Linked DNA regions of Homo sapiens: all the other regions are linked to region 3. The links are contacts of gene promoters, found by promoter capture Hi-C in blood cells and fetal thymus (Javierre and others, 2016). All regions are on one chromosome and are shown on one strand. The core of a region is centred on a gene start or on the middle of the fragment in contact, and the rest is flanking DNA. Distances in the headings are between cores, read along the strand shown.

The links. Contacts are between HindIII fragments. The CHiCAGO score rates a contact against its expected background, and 5 or more counts as called.
Region 1: a fragment that was not itself captured here is called in contact with the fragment with the promoter of RUNX1T1 in region 3 in 1 of 17 cell types (M0 macrophages); the score reaches 5.3 in M0 macrophages.
Region 2: a contact is called between a fragment that was not itself captured here and the fragment with the promoter of RUNX1T1 in region 3, in 1 of 17 cell types (erythroblasts). The highest score is 7.3, in erythroblasts.

The regions. Positions count from the first base shown.
Region 1 is chr8:93,348,812-93,351,511 of GRCh38, forward strand. All of the region lies in intron 10 of CIBAR1-DT (CIBAR1 divergent transcript), which reads right to left. Among named protein-coding and RNA genes, the nearest start is that of LINC02906, 180 kb to the left of the region's middle. The HindIII fragment of the contact is 1,329 bases long and covers 782-2,110 here.
Region 2 is chr8:93,589,802-93,592,640 of GRCh38, forward strand. All of the region lies in intron 5 of CIBAR1-DT (CIBAR1 divergent transcript), which reads right to left. Among named protein-coding and RNA genes, the nearest start is that of CIBAR1-DT, 110 kb to the right of the region's middle. The HindIII fragment of the contact is 2,746 bases long and covers 1-2,735 here.
Region 3 is chr8:92,101,971-92,104,887 of GRCh38, forward strand. RUNX1T1 (RUNX1 partner transcriptional co-repressor 1) reads right to left here and starts at 1,415. Exons shown (of 12, transcript NM_175634.3): 1 at 887-1,415. The HindIII fragment of the contact is 6,982 bases long and covers 1-2,887 here.

The sequences.
Region 1 (2,700 bases), core at 196-2,695, 1.2 Mb after region 3:
TGAAAACTATTGGCAGTCTGAACTCCTCTTCACTGGGAGAAATCTGGGATAGATGGTCAGTCTTTGAGGAGCTGAATTAGGGCAGGTTATCCCATCTAAGGCAACTCTGACTGAAAGACCCAAAACGTGAGTCTAAGCCAGTATTTGTACAGATTACTAATGGTCCAAGCCAGGAAAACTTAGTAGCAATGCCAAGTTCAAAGGGAGGGAGTCAGTTGCAAATGGGAAATGAAACCAGAGATCAGGATCTGGGAGAAAATAGGAGCAGAGCAGAATCAGATCAGGAAGGAAGCAAGATGATTCTAGGCCATTGTTCTCTCACTGGCGTGCTTTTGACTTACCTGGTTATTTTAGTTATTTGGTTATTAGATCCAGTGATGGACATCGGCACTGGCTAAAAGATTCAGAATTGGAGCCAATACTCCCCTCTTCAAAAAACTTTTGGCTCTCACTTTATCTATTATTACTACTATTATGTTTATATAACAATAATGTATTATTAATAATTTTTACTTTTTTAAGTAATAGGCCTTTTTTTTTTTTTTCCGAGATGGAGTCTCACTCTGTTGCCCATGCTGGAGTGCAGTGGTGCAATCTCGGTTCACTGAAACCTCCACCTCCCGGGTTCAAACGATTCATGCCTCAGCCTCCTGGGTAGCTGGGATTACAGGCATGAGCCACCATGCCCAGCTAATTTTTTTGTATTTTTAGTAAAGACAAGGTTTCACCAGATTGGCCAGGCTGGTCTCAAACTCCTGGCCTCAAGTGATCTGCCTGCCTAAGCTTCCCAAATGCTGGGATTACAGGCATGAGCCACTGAGCCTGGGCAATGGGCACTTATTTACCACCCACTGAGAGTTTAACAGAGAAAAAAATATTTAAATCTGGTTATCTCTGATCCTGAAGACCAAACTTCTTTCCTAGTTAAAAAAAAAATTCAGGGAAGGGTGAGGGTAAACAAGATACTATGATAAGCCCAAGCTAACCTAAACTTTTTCTTCTGACATTCTTTTACTTTTCAAACTCTGTATTTTCAAACAGCGGAAGGAGAACCTTAGGCACACCAAAAGCATTCATAAAGCAATGTTCTGTACCCAGTCCTGTACTAAGTGTTGCAGAAGTCACAAAAATTATAAAATTCGGTCGCCTCCCTCAAGGTTTTTACAATGTCAGTAGAGAGATAGAAGACCTATATGTGAAAGATGTGCAAAATGTAGGTGAGTCTTAACTAGATTTTGCTAGGTAACAAAACCACCCAAAACTTTATGGCTTAAAATAATCATGTATTCAATTATGATTCTGTGGTTGGCAGTTTGGGTTGGGCTCAGCTTAGACATCTCATCCTTACCCTACATAGTGTCTACTGAGCTCACTCCTATATCTGGTGCCTCAGCTGGGACAGCTAGCAAGTCTGGGGTGGCTGGATCTTTCTCCTCATTGGAAGAAGTGGGCTGGCTTATTCACAGAGTGGACAAGGGCAGAGGCTGCAAGGCCTCTAGTGGCTTAGGTTCACAGCTTGAGTATCATCACTTCTGCCACATTCTGTTGGTCAAACCAAGTCATGAGGCAGCTATAATTCAAAAAATGGAGAAACCTACACCCGCCTTTTAATGGGTCAAGCTGTAAAGAATATGTGGTCATATTTAATCTACTACGGTCACCCATTAGCTATAATTATTTCTATTTCTCCCATATGCCAGGTGAATTCACCCCATCCCAAGACCGCCCAAAAGTCTCATCCAATTGTATCATCAAACTGAAAGTCCAGGATCTCAGGAAGTGCATTTGGTCCAGGTGTGGATGAGGACCTTCTATTACAGCTCCTTGCATGTGGCTCCTCTTAATCCAGAAATCTATGAACCAAACAGACAAGTTTGTCTCCATCCTCTCCCATACCCAACATACAATGGTGAGATGGCAAGAGGATAATCATAATAGACACCCCATTCAAAAAGGAGAAATGGGGAGCACATAGGAGCCATAGGTCCACAGCAATTCAGGAATACAGTCATGTGCATATGACCATCAGAAATAGCCCTTGTTTACAGATGAATAGCTTTCCTCATCCTAACTCCTGCCCTAAGAAATTCTGTCTTAGTCTCTTAATGCAAGCTTATATAGCCCCCTTTAATACCTTGTGGGTTTTCTATGTATCAGGGAGTCATCCATTTCAATAGACAAAGGAAACACACACAATTCTTTTTAATGCAGCATTCTTTCTTCTTCAGGCAGTATATCACAATGTTGTGAGTTAATGCCCTCAAGATCTTTAGAAGTTATTTTGTTGAGTTGATATAATATACTAGGAACAACCACAAATCCTTCTGAGGTCTTTGCAAGAGTCTTAAAGTCACTCCCTTAATTAGATTTTAGAAGAATCTTTTGCAAACTGGAGAGACTGAAATGAAAAACAAGTTTATTTTCTAATTTAGAAGGTCCTGAGCCCTCTATCTTGTTTCTACTTTCTGTTTGCAAATGAAACAGTTCTTTATTTAGTTCATCTCCTTCGGCCTATACATTATTAACAATATGCCTGGAAATTTTCTTAACTAGATCCACAAGTTTATTAGATAAATGTTCTATCTTCCAAGTGACCACATGCAATATTTTTCCAATTGTTTTGCTCCAAAACCAGTGCCACATGTTTTAGGTTTCTGTTATAGCAGCATCCCCCTTCTAAGTACCAATTTCTGTTTTAGT
Region 2 (2,839 bases), core at 113-2,612, 1.5 Mb after region 3:
TAAGAAATATTACAAATTCTTAGCATGGATCTTAGATCTATCATTCTTTCTTTCTCAAATCATATCACAGCTCAGTTAACCAAAGATTTGCCTTCTTTTTACTGTTGCTATTTTTTTGGTTTGTTTTTTAAAAGAATGAAGCCCAGGCTGGGCATGGTGGCTCCACGCCTGTAAACCCAGCACTTTGAGAGGTTGAGGCAGGCGGATCACCTGAGGTAAGAAGTTCAAGACCAGCCTGGTCAACACGGTAAAACCCCGTCTCTACTAAAAATACAAAAATTAGCTAGGTATGGTAGTGCTCTCCTGTAGTCCTAGCTACTGGGAAGGGTGAAGCAGGAGAATAGTTCGAACCCGGAAGGCAGACGCTGCAGTGAGCTGAGAATATGCCACTGCACTCCAGCCTGGGCAACAGAGTGAAACTCCATCTCAAAAAAAAAAAAAAAAAAAAGAATGGAACCCAAAATTGCCTCTTTCCACAATCACTTACCTTACATTGGATGAAACCATTCTTTTTTTTTTTTTTTTTAAGAATCCTTAACCAGAAGCCAAGTCAGAGGTGTAAACCATTGTCTTTGGTCAGGTGCAGGTATGGTGGCTCATGCCTGTAATCCCACCACTTTGGAAGGCCAAGGCAGGAGGGTCACTTGAGGCCAGGAGTTCAAGACCAGCCTGGGCAATATAGCAAGACCCTGTTTCTACTTTTTAAAAAAAGAAACAAAAAGTCATTATAAAAAAAAAAAAACTATTGTATTTTAGGTGCATACCTTCCTCCAGCATGCAGGCTTGACCTTGCCAGGCTCCTCCACACTGGAGGGTCTCACTTCCATGGGTTTCCAAGTTCTCACCTACTCTAATGACTCCTCAGCTTAGCCCTCCTTTCCCCTGCTATCCCTTGGGGCTGGTGCCTACGGTTTTTACTTCGTTTGTCCCTGTGCCCCTAACGCCTTGTTCCAGTCGTAGAAGAAGGCCTTAATGTACTTTCCCAATGATCGATCCTGAAAATCACACCCAGGTATCAATCAGTTTTTGCTTACTTCATAACTGACCTCATCCACATGTACCCATGGCAAAGGCACCATATGTTAGTTCTTATGTTGGACTAAATAAAGAAAAGAAATTTAGAAAGAGTTTCACACATCATCTGGGTAATCATCCTGTATTTATAAGAGAGCAGATTAATGTCCCTGCATTAATATATGACTCAAATGCGGCTATGAGGGCTGAGCATGATTATCTGAGCTTGTTACTTAACCCACTCAATTTTTTTAAAAATTCTGCAATCTGATGTGGCAGAACAGACTCCAAATGTTCTTGAACTTCAGCAAGGAGCAAAGCTACCTAAATGTGGGAGTAGGGAATGGTCGGCTGATCTGCAAGCACAGCCGCAAGAGCCCTAAAGAGAGGGTCGTTTTGTCGTGGGGCTTGGCTTTCCATCTGGCTTCTTTCTTCAAACCTAAATCCAGGAAAGCCTTTACTTTGAAATCTGTCTCTGCTCCAGTCTGACACCAGGCTTGCCCTCTTGCCCTAAGAGGCCTTAAGCCACCAGCCTGGGCATTGGTAGGACTTCATTCTGGTTTCCAGGTTCACCCTGGCATTGGCCGATAAATGGGTTTCCCAGATGAATGGGTTTCTGCGTTGTAACCTGTGGCAGTATCTGCCCAAGAGGTAAGTCCCAGCCCCCAAACCCACTGGCTGGAGTAGAATTTTTACCTTCAAACTCCAGGCTTCATCTGACCTGACAGCTAGACCCCCACACAGGATCTCTTGCATTGTACAACTTCAGGGGGCACCATTCACTGTGTGCTCTATCTGGGCAACTCTGTGGCAACGAAGTTGTCTTTCTGGAAACCTGGAATTCATCTATGCTGTCCCTGCTTGTGCATGATAAATCTTGAATATAGTTTGAGCTTTTTAATGATACTTTACCCCTCACTTTCCTCCTTTATAGACAATACTGCCTGTTATAGGCCTAAAGTGCTCAATCCTTCAGTCATAGCTTCAGAACCTTTTTCACATCATGGCACACATGAAAAATAATTTTTGTCCTTGCTGGCACAGGCACTGTAGCTCACTCCTATAATCCCAGCACTTTGGGAGGCCAAAGCAAGAGGATCGCTTAAGGCCAGGAGTTTGAGGCCAGCCTGGGCAACACAGCAAGACCCTGTCTCTATATACAATTTTTTAAAATTAGCCAGGCATGGTGAAGTGAGCCTGTTGTCCCAGCTACTGAGGAGGCTGAGACGAGAGGATCGCTTAAGTCCAGGCATTGAAGGTTACAGTGAACTGTGATTGCACCACTGCACTCCAGCCTGGGCAACAGAATGAAACTTTCATCTCTTTAAAAAAAAAAAAAATTGTCCTTGATGATATAGCTGTTACCAGTCAGAGGCAACTGGTCCAGGGAGGCACCTCCAGCTGGCTTGGGCCCTTCTTCAGCCACCCTTGGGCTGAGGGTGCCACTATTTTGTCACATTGTAACCCATCCACAGCCTGTCTGCATACTCAGTCTTTGGATAGCCCTGCCTTAAGGCGCTTGGCTGGCCGCCAGCCTGGGTCCATTGTTCTAATTGTATGTCTTTGGGTCAGCCTGCATTTTAAGGCCTTCCTATTCTTTAGGTTTGATTTTCTCTGTAAAGTAATAATGTTTCTATATGATATATCAACTCAGAGAAAAGCATGAGGGGTACTGGTAGGAAATTTTGAATTTTTTTCCAACCTAAATTGGCCAGTGAAAAAGCTTTCCAATTCAAAAGAATGAGAATCTCAGAGATAAGGCAGAAGACTTGAAAAATAAATCTCTCTTTTCCTACCTTCAATTGTCCTATTTCCCTCATACACT
Region 3 (2,917 bases), core at 165-2,664:
AAAGGAATTATCCGGACGTGGCTCCAAGTCTGGACCCCTTCGGGCGGGAGCTACAGGGCACAAGGTTGTGCTCCCCACTCAGAAGAAGCGGGCACCGAGTCGGGGCCGCGACGGGAACACCCAGGAGGGCCGGGGCGGCTGAGTCCAGAGCGCGCAGAGGTCGGGCGGGGACGACTCTCCCCATCGGCCCCTGACTGCGAAGCCCGGGACCAGCCTCGGGCGGGAGCCGCCGTCCGCCCGCTCACCCAGGAGCTTCCCAGTCCAGCACCCCAAACGGCCAGGAGTAACAAGGAAAGTTCGCAGGCAGGCGCAGAGCGCCTGGGTACCTCTAAGCAAACCCCCACCCTAGTTGCAGCCGGGTCCCAAAGTTAAGATCCCGCCTCTTTACTCCTTAGGGCTAAGTTTTCCACCATCAAAACAAGTCTTTGCTTCCAGTTTACAGAAAAAGAAAAGAAAAAAAAAAAAAAGAAAGGAAAAGAAAAAAACCCACGATGCGGGCATAGGGCCACCTGCCAAATGCACTGTGGGCACCTCGATCGGTTGTTTTGTCGGGGGAGAAACCCACTCGTCATCTTCCTGCTCGCATACCGTGACTATGGAGAGGGAAGAAAAATTATTTTTAAAAGACACTGTGGGGAATATAATAGTAAAAACTGCATCCTCGGCTGACCCGCGAAGTTCAGTGTCATCGCAGACCGGAGTCACCCGCGATGTTCCTCTTTGCCCTGGTGCGTAGTCCTACCCTAATTGAGCGACAAGTACAGCCTGGAGCCTCGCGGTCGAATAATCCAAACGAAGATGACGGTCATCGGAACAGTAATTAATAACAGTCAGGGGCCCGACCCCGCCGCCCGCCCGCCGGCCAAGCCCTACCGCGGACACTTACACTGCACAGGGCCGGAGAGTCCCACCATCCGCCACAGGCTCCGAGCTGCAAATAAAACTTCCCGTCGTCTCGGCCGGCCCGCGGGGCGACGGGGCGAGGACGCGGCGCGGCTTCCCTCGCGAGGCCAGAGTGTCCGCGGCCACTCGCCCACGCGCGCTCGCCACGAGACCGCGGAGTCGCGCCGCGGAGCGACTACGGCCGCCCGGCGCTGCGCAGAGAGAGCTGCCGTGCAAAAAGCCCGGGGTCGGGGACGCCAGCCAAACGCAACCTCCACGCAGAGCCCAAGACTTGCGGAGCTCTGCTCCCCTCCTCCCGCCTCCCTCCCTCCCTCCGCTTTTCTGTTGTTGCTGCTGTGGCAGACAAATGTGATGTGGGGCGCAGGGAATTGCCACTGTCACAGGCGGCGTCTGCGTCTCCCTCGCCCGCCCTCGCTCACTCTCGAGGAAGGCGACGCATTTATCTGCAGGGCGGCCGGGCGTCCGCCGGGGAGCAGGAGCGCCGCGCGCTGTGCGCCGAGAGCGCCCGCATCAGGCCGGCTCCGGCGCACGCTCGCGCCAGGGGCGCCGCGGCCGGTCGGGAGGGAGGCGGCTGCGCGGCCGCTACCAGGTGCAGGGGGGAGGACCCGCGGCGGGGCGTGGGGGAGGTGGAGGTGGGAGACATCTGTGTTGTGCGGGGGTCACGGAGGTCAAGTATATGTTAACAATGGGCAGGCCCGGCACGCTAGGGCGCGCGGGCTGGCGGGCGGCCTCCCTCCCGGCCTCGCCCTCTCCCATGCAGGCTGGACGTGGGGTTGGCTCCCTAATGATGCCTTCCCGGGCCGCCAGCTCTCAGGCGGCCCGAGTGCCCTGCAGTAACCCAAGACGACCACTTTCCCCGGCCATCTGGAGCGCTCCCGGCTGCCCTGCCTGTGTCTCATCACTGGCTGAAGAGACAGCTCTGCTAGAAATCAAGCCACTCTCAGATCTCCTCTCTAATCCCCTTCTGTTAGCTGATTTCCAGACTGACTATTTGCTTTCGCATTAGATAATAGCCTTAGAGAAAACAATTATCATTTTCTTTTATTCTCTTTGTTTTTCTACTTCTCCCATAGTATACCATTAAGAGGGACGGCTTTCTATCTCAGGTTTTTGTTAGATGTGTCCCCCTCCCCCAGACATTAATATCAATACTTGGGGGCAGTGTGGGGGGTAGTCCCGGAGGAAAAGATAGGGTGAAAGAATTCCAGATATTTCCAGAGTAAATAAATAATCTCGGTGAAGAGGACTGACAATTTGTACAGAGCCAAAAAGGGCTTGAATAATAATGAAAATATTAATATGTAGGTCAAATATGATCAGATAATGGCTTGCAATGATAAGTAAAATGAAATCTTTTAAAATTACTATGGAACGGTACCCTGACTGCAAATGTTATTGTATTTAGTGGAACTATTTGAAATCCTACTCTGAACCATGTTTTCTCCAACTAGCCTAAATCAATGTAAGATGTCCTGAATACGTGTTTTAAAATCTCATTTTTACAAAGGAAAAAAGGCATCAGATAGAGTCTGAGTCGGTCTGATGCAGTTGAGAACTGATGAGACATTTGTGGGTTTTATTTTCTGAAGTGGTGTTTCAAATATTTAATAGTGAGTAAAATCCCTTCCCCCATCCTTTTAAACCCAGCTGGAGCTTCCAATTCTGAAGTCTTTTCAGACTCTACTAATTTTTAGCAATTCATTTCCAGAAAACACTCATTGTACATTCTCCCCTCTCCTTGGGACATTTGTCTAATGAATTATAATAGATTAATGAATTGCAATGTTAAGTCTTGGTATTTGATATTATGATGCTCTTAATTTGAATCTCATTTTATCAAGGTGTACATTCTATAATAATTTCTGTATTACAGTTCTTTATATTTTGCTATAGTCGCAAATCTTAATAGCATGAATAATCTTAAACTATAAAATTTTATGTACACCATACTAATATAACTCCTTTGTGTAGAAAATTATGTCAAAGCTTACTATTGTTCTTAAAAGAATAAAAT